Regions from separate parts of the Homo sapiens genome. Here region 1 is linked to region 2. Evidence: promoter capture Hi-C in 16 types of primary human blood cells and fetal thymus (Javierre and others, 2016). All regions are on one chromosome and are shown on one strand. The core of a region is centred on a gene start or on the middle of the fragment in contact, and the rest is flanking DNA. Distances in the headings are between cores, read along the strand shown.

The links. The method cuts DNA at HindIII sites, captures the fragments that hold promoters and counts their contacts. A CHiCAGO score of 5 or more calls a contact.
Region 1: a contact is called between the fragment with the promoter of ALOX15 here and a fragment that was not itself captured in region 2, in 7 of 17 cell types (naive CD8 T cells, naive CD4 T cells, total CD4 T cells and 4 more). The highest score is 12.7, in naive CD8 T cells.

Annotation. Positions count from the first base shown.
Region 1 is chr17:4,638,534-4,645,343 of GRCh38, forward strand. It overlaps ALOX15 (arachidonate 15-lipoxygenase), which reads right to left and starts at 3,145. Exons shown (of 14, transcript NM_001140.5): 1 at 2,984-3,145; 2 at 897-1,098; 3 at 518-599; 4 at 317-439; 5 at 48-151. The coding sequence starts at 3,118. LOC105371499 (a long non-coding RNA gene) reads left to right here and starts at 6,476. Exons shown (of 3, transcript XR_001752768.2): 1 at 6,476-6,810. RefSeq lists an enhancer at 1-588. The HindIII fragment of the contact is 20,783 bases long and covers 1-6,810 here.
Region 2 is chr17:4,419,678-4,425,812 of GRCh38, forward strand. No RefSeq gene overlaps it. Among named protein-coding and RNA genes, the nearest start is that of SPNS3, 11 kb to the right of the region's middle. RefSeq lists a silencer at 1,013-1,212. The HindIII fragment of the contact is 2,099 bases long and covers 2,414-4,512 here.

The DNA.
Region 1 (6,810 bases), core at 1,895-4,394, 220 kb after region 2:
GGGTGGGATCTGGGGGGTTGGGAGACATACTGGGGTGGGGGACTGACCAGCCAGCTTGCTCTGACCACACCAGAAAATCCGGTTGAAGTCATCTAGATCCTTCCAGCAAGTCAGAACATTTAGAGAGTCTTTGATAGCGAGGTCGGCCAGCCTTCAGGGCAGGATGGGGCAAAGGGTTTGAGCATCATTCTGAGGCTCTAACATGACGACCACAGGCACCGATCCTGGGCCAGTCCAATGCAGTGCAGCCCATAAGCCCCTTGGCTTCCACTAGACCAGGACACCTCCCTCTCACCCAGCCTCCCCTTGCTCTCACCCCTTGGCCAGCGAAACCTCAAAGTCAACTCTCTTGTCTTCCAGAAATCGCTCATCCACAGGGAGGTCATATAGTTTGGCCCCAGCCATATTCAGAATTAACCCGTCCTTCCAGTTTCCCCACCTGTGGGGCAGGAAGGAAATCAAGTATGGGTGCTGGAAGCATCAGCAGCTCACGTGGGGTCAGGGGAGGAGGGCTCACCGGTACAACTTCCTTCTCTCTTCCAGCTCTTCTTCCCGGTGTTTCTGGAACAGGCCCTGAGGGTCCTCGCCCACAGTGCGGCCTAGAAGGACAGAGGAGGACTTGGCCAGTGACTTTTGGTGAGCGCCTCTTCTTGTCTCTGCCAGGAGAGCCTCAGCACCCCGTCCTTCTGTGTGGCCTCTGCCCCTTCAGCATCACGCCCCTCCCCCAGGCTCCAGCCACTTTGTGCCAGCTGCAGCCACCGCCCCTTCGACACCCCCAAAGACCCCGGCGCTCCAGGTTCCAGCACCCCCATCCTGCGCCCTCTTCTCCACACGCGCATCCCCCCAGCTTCTCACACAGCCCAGAGGCCTCCTGACACCCTCAGCCCCGCGCTTACCGGTGCCTTCAGGCAGGCTCAGGACGCCGTTGCCCTCCACCCAGCGGTAACAAGGGAACCTGACCTCGTCCCCGGCTCCGGGGCCCTGCACAGAGATCCAGTTGCAGAACCAGGCGTCGTCCTTAAGGAGGTGCCGTTTGCGCAGTTTCACAAACAGCAGCGGCCCCAGATACTCCGGTACTTCCACCTTGAGTTCTGTCTCCTGCGGGCGACAGAAGAGGCTCAGCCCCGGTGGGGCCTGGCGGGAGGGGCACCCGGCTGAGCCCTGCTCCCTCCAGCGCCCACGCCCTTCCTCGGAGCCTCTGAGAGGAGGAGACGTATCGGGGTGCGGGGACTGAGCCAGAGAGAGAGGGACCGCGCCGAGCAGGTGGCCCCAGGACTCGGTTCTGAGGGGACGGGGACGGCAGGTGGGAAGGTGCGCTCCTGCCTTCACTTTCTCCTCCCTGTGGTCACTGACTGTGCCAAGCGCTGGGCTGAGCGCTGCCGCGCCCTGGACGAGCGCGCTGTGGAGCCCGGACGCGCTGGTGGCAATTCCCGCTGTGCGACCCCCCACCCCACCCCGCCCGAGGCTGAGGACCTGCAGGGGCCCCACCGGCCTGGGGACAACCTTCCCGGAGACCTGGAGGCGGAGAGGGCTCAGCCAGGGAGAGTGACAGAAAGGGAAGGCAGGGGAAAGGCGCGCAGAAAGAGAGCGGCGGGGAAGGGAGGGCGAGCAGCATCTTGGAGCTGGAGCTCAGAGCCCAGGTGTGGGGGGTCAGCAGGTCCGGAGGCTCTCGAAGGTGGCGCCAGGGGCTTTGGATTTGGTCCCGAGAACAAGCGGGAGCCGTTCGAATGTGTTAAGCAGGGGGAGTGAATTAGGGAGAAATCATTCCGGCTTCAGAAGGGCTTGGAAGGTCTGCAGCAGAGGTGGCGAGGCCGCTGGAGGTTTGAAATGGCTTTTAAAATAGAGAAACCGGGAGGACCGACGACCGCTCCGGCGACCGCAGTTTCCAGGCACCAGAGCTGTGTGGAATGAGGGGCGCTCAGGAGCATCCCCTTAATTCCAAGGAGATCGAGTAGCGGGAACATTTATTGAGCCTTTACTGTGTGTCACCAACTGCCCACCATAGGGAGGAAAAAAGGGAGGAGGGAGCGCGCCTTTCCACCTTCCGTGCCCCGTCCCCTCACCATGGAGTCGCGGGGCCACCTGCTCCGTGCGCATTTTCTCTCTTCCTGGCTCCCTTTGCCCCGCTTTCTCGGAAGCTCGGAGCAAGGGCGTGGAGTGCGGGGAGCAGGGCTCCGCAGGTTCAAGAGGACGCGGGCGGTCGGGGGCGGGACGGATATTGGGCAGGGACGCGGGAGATGCTCAGGGTCTAGAACTGACTGCGCCGGATTCTTGTTTAGAGGGAGGTGAAGAGAGGAAGGAGGCGCGGGTGACACCGGGGGAGGCAGGAGGAGAGGGCTGGGAGGTGGGGAGAGGGGAGGACCTCATCCGGGCATGTTGCTTTGACGTTCCCTGAGACAGACATCCGGATTTGGGGATCTGGGAGAGAGCTAGAGCAGTGATGGGAATTTGGGCTTTCGCGGAAGAAAAAAAGTTAACAGGACCGGGTAGAACACCCGGTAGATGTGACATGAGATATGACGGGAGGTGGGTCGGGAAATCGAGAGCGTTCTCCTGTCTTGACTCCCCATCCCTTCCCTCTCACCACCCACTCCACCCCAGGTGATAAAGCCTGAAAGGTAGAGATCCAACAGCGCTAGCGGTTGAAACGGTTTTTAAAATAGAGAAAGCGAGAGGACCGACGGCGGCTCCAGTGACTGCTGAGTTTCCAGACAAGGGAGCTTTGTGCAATGAGGGGCGCACAGGAGCATGCCCTCAATTCCAAGGAGATCGGGTAGCGGCAACATTTATTGAGCGCTTACTGTGTGCCACCGACTGCCCTAAAGCCCCCCACCCCCGTGGCCTCCGCGCGCTTTGAGCCCAATGCGCGGGCCCTTGGCAAAGAGAATCGGCCAGAGGCCAACGGGGGCGCATGTCCTCCCCGGTATTTGACTGACTCGGAGCCAGGGGCGCAGCCCACCCCGCCCGGCTCTGGGGAGCTCACCTTGCCCCGTGCGGGCCACAGTCGCTTCCCGAGCGCCGCCTCCCCGTGCTGGCCGACCAGCCACAGCTGCACCTGGTTGTTGGAACCGGCATAGAGCGAGGCCCCAGTGGACACGCGGATGCGGTAGAGACCCATCTTGCTCAAAGATGTTTCGCTCCTTCTGGTGGAGAAGGGTGGACGAGCTAAATAACCCAGCCTGAGACCCCGCCCTCTCGGAGGTCGCTTGGGGTCGGAATGTGGGTGGCAGGTCTCCAATCAACTCCGCCTACCGCTGGGGCCCCCAGCTCCAAGGAGCAGAGCTTCAAGGGGCAGAATTCAGCCCCAGTCCAAAAGGCGGTGTCCTGGCGAGAGCAGGGAGTGGAAACCACTATCTTGACGGGAGGGAGAAAAAGAAAAGGATTTGGACCGAAAACACGCAGGAAGAGGGAATCAACGCCTGGTACAGCAGGCAGGCGAGGTGGGGGTAGGAGTTATGCACGTGTGTACCACGGACTTTGGGCCAAGCCTGGGTGGCTGGGAAGCCAACCTCCATCTAAACGCACGCGTGCACACACACACACACGCAAGGACACGCGCGCGCACACACAAGCCTCACAAGTTGGATTGCAGGAGAGGGTGAAGTGGGCGAGGAGACCCAGTTTGCAGTGGCATTTGAGGAAGGTACATTCAGGCCACGGAATTCATTCGACCAGCTTTGCACACTTGCCTTCTCTGTGCCAGCCACTGGGACTCATTCCTTTTGAGCATAAAAGCCGCTGCCTCCCTGTTGCCTGCAGAATAAAAGTCCAAATGTTTCTGGCATTCAATGCCCTTGCTAACCTGACCTGCTCTCCTCACCTCTCATCCCACTGCACCCTGGCATCTCCTGTGCTGGAGCCATGTGTTCCCCGGAACCCCCCCTCCCCCCGCCGCCCCTGCTGTTCTCTCAAAGAACTCACTTCTGGGTTAGTCTGGTCATGCTTCTAAACCCTAATTCGTCTCCAGTTTCTTTTTGGGCTGGAGCCATGTGTTCCCCAGAACCCCACCTGCTGTTCTCTCAAAAGAACTTGCTCCTGGATTAGTCTATTCATCTATTCATGCTTCTAAACCCTAGTTCACCTCCGGTTTCTCAGGAAAGTCTTACCCGGTACTTTCACCCCCCACCACCCCACCAGAGTGAATTAGCTTTCCTTTTTTTTTTTTTTTTGAGATATAGAGTCTCACTCTGTCACCCTGGAATGCAGGGTGGAGTGCAATGGCACGATCTCGGCTCACGGCAACCTCTGCCTCCCGGGCTCAAGCAATTCTCTGCCTCAGCCTTCCGAGTAGCTGGGATTACAGGCGCCTGCCACCATGCCTGGATAATTTTTGTATTTTTAGTAGAGACGGGGTTTCTCCATGTTGGCCACGCTGGTCTTGAACTCCTGACCTTGTGATCCACCCACCTCAGTCTCCCAAAGTGCTGGAATTACAGGTGTGAGCCACGGCGCCCGGCCCAGCTTTCCTTTCTAACACTTTTCTCCTTGCGCACACTTCTACTGTTGCACAGTTAATACTGCAGTGTGAGCATTTGTATGTGTGTATCCCCCACTAATGTGAGCCCGTCCTAGGCAGGGACTACACACCCAGCAGGACTCTCACTTTTGTTTCCCCTGGAGACGGCACAGTGTCAGGGTTTGTGGGTGTCAATAAGTGTTTGCTGAAACACACTGAGCTGAAAAATTCATTATAAATGAATGCTTCCCTTGGGGGAGACAAAGGGAAACAAATTATCAGGCAATGTAAACAAAAGGGGAATACTAACATAAACTTCATGGCATGGATTACAATCAGCCTGGTAACACAAATGAAGTCCACGAAAATATGTCTGTGATGCATATTTTCTGGTTTGCTTGTTTTTTGTTTTTGGTGTTTTTTTTTTTAATGAGATGGAGTCTTGCTCTGTTGCCCGGGCTAGAGTACAGTGGTGTGATCTCGGCTCACTGCAACCTCCACCTGCCGGGTTCAAGCGATTCTCCTGCCTCAGCCTCCAGAGTAGCTGGGATTACAGGCACCCACCAACATGCCCGGCTACTTTTTGTATTTTCAGTCGAGATGGGGTTTCACCATGTTGGCCAGGCTGGTCTTGAACTCCTGACCTCAAGTGATCCACCTGCCTCGGCCTCCCCAAGTGCTGGGATTACAGCCATGAGCCATCATGTCCGGCCCTGCTTAATTGTTTACTGGGAAGTACATTCATGTGATTCAAAATTCAAAAGGTACAAAGTGATATTCACTAGTTTCTCCCTCCTCTTGGCCCCAAGCCACCCAGTTGCTCCACTCCCAGCAATCACAGTTACCAGTCTCTTCTGTGCACTAATATTACTGAGCAAATACACGCCTATCTTTGTCTTTTTCTGCACATTGTAGCATGCCTTATTCTGCATCTCGTTTTTCCATAGTGCAACAGGAGGTCATTCCATATCCATGCATAAAGAGCTTCCTTGTTCTTTGCTAAGGCTGCCATTTGCTGTAACGCCATAAATTCTACTAGTCTCTTGTAGTGGACACAGGTTATTAGTAATCTTTTGTAGCTATGAAAAAGTGCTGAAAGAAATAAACCTCGCATATACAGCATTTCTCGTATGAAAGTATCTCTGTAGAACAAAACCCTGGAGATAGAATTTCTGGACCAAAAGCATATCGAATTTAGGCAGAAACTGCTCAATTGCCCTCTGTAGAAAGTTGTACTGATTTAGACTCCCACCAGTGGACTGTGTATGAGAATGCCCATTCTTCCTCACTCTTGCCAATGGTGTGTTCATAACCTTACCTTAGCCAATCGGATAGGTGAAAAATGGTACCCTAGTTTTAATTTTAATTTGCATTACCCTTATTATGAGTAAAGTTGAGCTTTTTTTTTTTTTCTTTTTTTGAGAAGGAGTTTTGCTCTTGTCGCCCAGGCTGGAGTGCAGTGGCGCGATCTTGGCTCACTAAAACCTCTGCCTCCCGGGCTCAAGCAATTCTCCTGCCTTAGTCTCTCGAGTAGCTGGAATTACAGTCGCCTGCCACCATGCCCGGCTAATTTTTTGTATTTTTAGTAGAGATGGGTTTTCGCTATGTTGGCCAGGCTAGTCTCGAACTCCTGGCCTCATGTGATCAGCCTGCCTCAGCCTCCCAAAGTGCTGGGATTACAGGTGTGAGCCACCGTGCCCAACCAAAAGGTTTTTTTTATAAGTGAAATTCAGAAAAATCAAAATGTGGTGGGTAAAATTCATCTTCCATAGAAATGGCACAAACCCAGTAATTTTCTTGCAGATTAAAAGTGTGATTGAAGAGTTGGGAAGGCTTCCAAAAGTAATTCACAGTAACTTGTGGGTAGACTGAGTGAGGTTAGATTATGATGCAGTTGTGATGGGAGAGGAAAGACCCAGGCCATTTCTTCCCGTCTTGGATAGGGATATCTATGGTGGTTAGCCTATGCCTGTTCCAACATTGTATGTTGGGGGTGGGGTCAGATGACTTTCTCTTTAGTTTACAGGTCTTCAGAAGAAGAGGAGCCCAGGCACGGTGGCTCATGCCTGTAATCCCAGCACTTTGGGAGGTCGAGGTGGGAGAATCAGCTGAGTTCAGGAGTTCAAGACCAGCCTGACCAACATGGTGAAACCTCATCTCTACTAAAAATACAAAAAGTAGCCAGGCATGGTGGTGGACACCTGTAATCCCAGCTACTCAGGAGGCTGAGGCAGGAGAATCGCTTGAACCCCAGAGGCAGAGATTGCAGTGACCTGAGATCGTGCCACTGCACTCCAGCCTGGGCAACAGAGTGAAACTTCTTTAAAAAAGAAAAAAAAAAAGAAGAGGAGGAA
Region 2 (6,135 bases), core at 2,213-4,712:
CGATCTCAGCTCACTGCAACCTCCACCTCCCAGGTTCAAGTGATTCTCATGCCTCAGCCTCCTGAACAGCTGGGACTACAGGTGTGCACCACCAAGCCCAGCTAATTTTTGTATTTTTAGTAGAGATGGGGTTTCACCATATTGGCCAGGCTGATCTCGAACTTCTGACCTCGTAATCCACCTGCCTCGGCCTCCCACAGTGCTGGGATTCCAGGCGTGAACCACCGCACCCAGCCAGCATAATGATCATCGCCAATTAACAGGCACTCAGCACATGGTATGTGCTCTGTTAGTGTTTGCTATTGTTATTACTGGCATGTAATGATAGAAAAAAGAAATAAAGGAAAAAAGTTTACCTATAGTTCTATGAGCCTGAGATAAGTACACTGTTAAGCCTTTGAGATATAGCCTTCCACACTTTCACTATATGAACATACTTTATAAATATGGCCAGTTCCACAATGTGGTCTAAAATATGATCATAACTCTAATTTTCCCAATTAATTGTTCATGCTTGTGTATGCCTTATTATTATTGTTATTATTTTAGACGGAGTCTCGCTCTGTCTCCCAGGCTGGCGTGCAATGTCGCAATCTTGCCCCATTGCAACCTCTACCTCCCAGGTTCAAGCAATTCTCCTGCTTCAGCCTCCGAAGTAGCTGGGACTACAGGCATGTGCCACCATGCCCGGCTAATTTTTGTATTTTTAGTAGAGGCGTGGTTTAGTAGAGGCTGGTCTCGAACTCCTGACCTCGTGTTTCACCCTCCTTGGCCTCCCAAAGTGCTGGGATTACAGGTGTGAGCCACCACGCCGGGCCTGTGTATGCCTTATTAAAAAGAAATCCAGGGCCAGGTGTGGTGGCTCACGCCTGTAATCCCAGCGTTTTGAGAGGTCGAGGCAGGTGGATCGCTTGAGCCCAGGAGATGGAGGCTGCAGTGAGCTGTGATGACTGCTACTGCACTCCAGCCTGGTTGATAGAGTGAGACCCTGTCTCAAAAAAACAAAAACCATTCAGGATCTTGAGACCACCCTGTATCACCCAGAAACTTTTGAGAGCCTACACCATGCGGGGCATAGGTCATGACTGCTATTTCCCATCATGACCACATGGTGTCGCCATTGAAACCTGGTTGTAACCAGTCCCCAGGACTTGGTGGTAACGATGCTTTTTGAAATCGTGCTAACCTCAGCGAGAAGGGTTCTAGGCTTGAGATGTCAAGCTTGCTGTTCTCAGGGTTCAGTGGCTGTATTTCCTGCACACTTTCCACCATCTAGGGTGACTCCTAGCTCCAGGAGGCCTGGGTTAGGACAGCTTCTGACATCTGCCACCTTCTAGATCTAGAACCTAAAATTTTCCCTTCCTCTTTGGGAATCCATACCAGGAGCTCGTTTCAGCCCTGCAAGCATCAAGGCTGAGAGGTGGTTAGCCATCTGCGAAGACATGGTCTGCTTATCCCGTGGCCACTTTCTTTTTTTTTTTTTTTTTCGAGACGAAGTCTTGCTCTTGTCTCCCCAGGCTGGAGTGCAGTGGCACAATCTCGGCTCACTGCAACCTCTGCCTCCTGGGTTCAAGCGATTCTCTTGCCTCAGCCTCCCGAGTAGCTGAGATTACTGGCGCCTGCCACCACGTCTGGCTAATTTTTGTATTTTTAGTAGAGACAGGGTTTCACCATGTTGGCCAGGCTGGTCTCAAACTCCTGACCTCAAGTGATCCGCCCGCCTCAGCCTCCTAAAGTGCTGGGATTATAGGCATGAGCCACTGCGCCCGGCTACCCTGTGGCCCCTTTCTTTCCCATTCTTCCTCAGAGACAGAGGCAGACTTCCCTGGCACCCACCTTCCCAGCTTCTCCTGCAGACGTGGCACCGACATGTGACTCAACCTGGCCAGTGGGCTGTGAGGGAGCACCAGCAGGGGAATTTCTAGGGCAGATTTTCCTCCCTAATAAATACACATGAACACATTTCAGGATGAATCTCCTACCTTCTTATATGTGAGACGACAAGCCTCAAGATGGAGACTGTGGTAGCCAGCCTGCAAGAAGATCTCGTGGCAGGGCGTGGTGGCTCAGGCTGGTAATCCCAGCACTTTGGGAGGCTGAAACGGGTGTATCACCTGAGGTCAGGTGTTCGAGACCAGCCTGGCCAACATGGAGAAACCCTGTCTCTACTAAAAATACAAAAATTAGCCGGGCGTGGTGGCAAGTGCCTGTAATCCCAGCTACTTCTGGGAGGCTGAGGCAGGAGAATTGCTTGAACCTGGGAGGCAGAGGTTGCAGTGAGCTGAGATTGCACCACTGCATTCCAGCTTGGGCGACAAGAGCAAAACGACATCTCAAAAACAAAGCAAAACAAAAAAAAAATTGGCTTGAATAAAATACATAAATCTTCTTTTTTTAAAAAAGATCTCCCGCAAGCTTTCCCTCCTGGTATTCATGCCCTTCCACATGGAGGGGCAGCAGAGAGTATGGGAACACAGAGCATAGACTGGCCTGTGTGGCCAATGGAATGCAGCTGAGTACAGACCTAGGAGTCCAGGTCAGGAAAGATGCAGGCCAGACGCAGTGGCTCACGCCTGTAATCCCAGCACTTTGAGAGGCCGAGGCAGCTGGATCACCTGAGGTCAGGAGTTCAAGACCAGCCTGGCCAACATGGTAAAACGCTGTCTCTACTAAAAATACAAAAACTAGCTGGGCGTCGTGGCATGCGCCTGTAATCCCAGTGACTCAGGAGGCTGAGGTGGGAGAATCGCTTGAACCCAAGAGATGGAGGTTGCAGCGAGTGGAGATTGTGCCAGTGCACTACGTCCTGGGTGACAGAGCAAGACTCTGTCTCAAAAAAAAAAAAAAAAAAAAAAAAGATGTTGCAGTTTCTGCCTTGGTCCCTAATGTATTGTTCCCCCTGCAGGAAACTAGCCACCATACCGTGAGGATGCTCAAGCAGTCCTGTGGAGGGACCCATCTAGACAGGAGCCAACAGGCAGCACCAACTTGCCTGCCACGTGAGTGAGGCCCCTTGGAAACAGAGCTCCCAGCCCCAGTTAAGACTTTAGGGGACTGCAGCCCTTCACGGCAACAAGAGACCCTGAGCCATAGTCCTGCATCTCAGCTGCTCCCAAATTCCTGACCACTGAAAAATGCAAGAGATAAATGACTACTGTTGTTTAAAGCCATGAGTTCTGGGGGGATTTGTTTTATAGCAATTAATTAAGTAATCAAAGGCCAACACTATAAAGATTTCAGGGGGGAAAGATGAAAAACACTGAGTTTTTTATGATGTCATGGAGCCACTGAGTTAATCAACCCTGAAACTGCCTACTTCTTGATTTGCAGTGCAAGAGAACGAATGAATGTCCTGGTTTGGCTGCTGTTACTTCTGCTGTTACTTGCGGACAAAAGCATCCTTATTGATTCATCACATAAAAGATGACTCCCTGGGGATTTCTGAAGAGTGATTCCTGGCCGGGCTCGGTGGCTCATGCCTATAATCCCAGCACTTTGGGAGGCCGAGGTGGGTGGATTACAAGGTCAGGAGATCTAGACCATCCTGGCTAACACAGTGAAACCCCGTCTCTACTAAAAATACAAAAAATTAGCTGGGTGTGGTGGCAGGTGCCTGTAGTCCCAGCTACTCAGGAGGCTGAGGCAGGAGAATGGCGTGAACCCGGGAGGTGGAGCTTGCAATGAGCCGAGACTGCACCACTGCACTCCAGCCTGGGTGACACAGGGAGACTCCATTTCAAAAAAAAAAAAAAGTGATTCCTGAGTGACTTCCTGTGACCTTCTTTTTTTTTTTTTTTTTGATTAAGGGTCTTGCTCTGTCACTGAGGCTGGAGTACAGTGATGCAATCACAGCTCGCTACAGCCTCAACCTCCTTGGCTCAAGCAATCCTGCAATCCTCCTGCCTCAACCTCCTGAGTAGCTGGGACTACAGGCACACCACCACCATGCCTGTCTAATTTTTTTTTTTTTTTTTGCAGCGATGGGGGCCTGTTGCCCAGGCTGGTCTCAAACTCCTGGGTTCAAACAATCCTCTCACCTTGGCCTCCCAAACTGTTGGAATTACAGGTGTGAACCACTGTGCCCAGCCTGTCACCTCCTATTCTGTGAGGCTGGACATTTCTTTTGTTAAAAAAAGGACATAAATTTAAACTCTGATGGGAGCCACTCTGGAAGGGTCTCCACTAAAAATCATCTCAAATGAGCTTTTTTTTTTTTTTTTTGAGATGGAGTTTTGCTCTTGTTGCCCAGGCTGGAGTGCAGTGGTGCGATCTTGGCTCACTGCAACCTCTGCCTACTGGGTTCAAGGGATTCTCCTGCCTCAGTCACCCAAGTAGCTGGGATTACAGGCACCACCACCATGCCCGGCTAATTTTTTTGTATTTTTAGTAGAGACGGGGTTTCACCATGTTGGCCAGGCTGGTCTCTATCTCCTGACCTCAGGTGATCTGCCCGCCCTGGCCTCCCAAAGTGCTGGGATTACAGGTGTGAGCCACCACGCCTGGCCCCCAATAAGCTTCTGTATCAGAATTCACGAGAAAAAGCAGCCAAATAAGCTATGACTGGCCAGTTCACAAGTTTGTCTTTGATGTGTTTTATTATTTTTATCTGAATGGAATTATCCTGGACATGGATTTTGTAGGCTCTTGTTTATTTTTCACCATCAAATTCTGAACGTCTTTCAGATCAACATAGACTAACATCATGTACAGGGCTGTCTGGTGCCCCATTGTAGGGAGGTACCATGATTTATTTATTAATTTAATTTTTTTTTTTTTGAGATGGAGTTTCGCTCTTGTTGCCCAGGCTGGAGTGCAATGGCAGGATCTCAGCTCACTGCAACCTCCGCCTCCAGGGTTCAAGCGATTCTCCTGCCTCAACCTCCCAAATAACTGGGATTACAGGCATGTGCCACCACGCCCGGCTAATTTTGTATTTTTAGTAGAGACGGGGTTTCTCTATGTTGGCCAGGATGGTCTCGAACTCCTGACTTCAGGTGATCCGCTTGCTTCGGCCTCCCAAGGTGCTGGGATTACAGGCATGAGCCACGGCGCCTGGCCTGGAGGTACCATAATTTATTTAACCAGCCTCTGAAGCTGGGAATCTAGAATGTTGTCACTGTTCTGATATTACAATAACCCCATTTACTTTTTTTTTAATTGTGGTAAAATAATATAGAATTTACAATTTAGCCTTTTTTTTTTTTTTGAAACAGAGTCTTGCTCTGTCGCCCTGACTGGGGTGCAGTGACGCGATCTCGGCTCACTGCAATCTCTGCCTGCCGAGTTCAAGCGATTCTCCTGCCTCAGCTTCCCAAGTAGCTGGGACTACAGGCATGTGCCACCACGCCCAACTAATTTTTGTATTTTGTATTTTTTTTGACAGAGTCTTGCTCTGTCACCCAGGCTGGAGTGCAGTGACATAATCTCAGCTTACTGCAAGCTGTGCCTCCCGGGTTCACGCCATTCTCCTGCCTCAGCCTCCCGAGTGGCTGGGACTACAGGCGCCTGCCACCATGCCTGGCTAATTTTGTTTTTGTATTTTTAGTAGAGACGGGGTTTCACCATGTCAGCCAGGATGGTCTCGATCTCCTGACCTCGTAATCCGCCCACCTCAGCCTCCCAAAGTGCTGGGATTACAGGCGTGAGCCACCGCGCCCGGCTAATTTTTGTATTTTTAGTAGACACGGGGCTTCACCATTTTGGTCAGGCCAGTCTTGAACTCCTGACCTCGGGTGATCCGCCTGCCTCAGCCTCCCAAAGTGCTGGGATTACAGGTGCGAGCCCCTGCGCCTGGCCTCAATTTAACCATTTTTAAGTGTAAAGCTCAGAGGTACTAAATGCACTCACGTTGTGCAACCATTACCACCCTCCATCTGTGAAACTTTTTCATCATCCCCAACTGAAACTCTGTGCCCATTAAGCAATGACCCCATTTCTCACTCGCCCCCATTCAGTCCCTCCTAACCTCTATTCTACTTTTGGTCTCTGTAAATTCACATATTCTAGTCCAGGCGCCGTGGCTCTCATCTGTAATCCCAGTACCTTGAAAGGCCTGAGGTGGGCAGATTGCTTGAGCTCACGAGTTTGAGACCAGCCTTGGCAACGTGGCAAAACCCTGTCTCTACAAAAAATGCA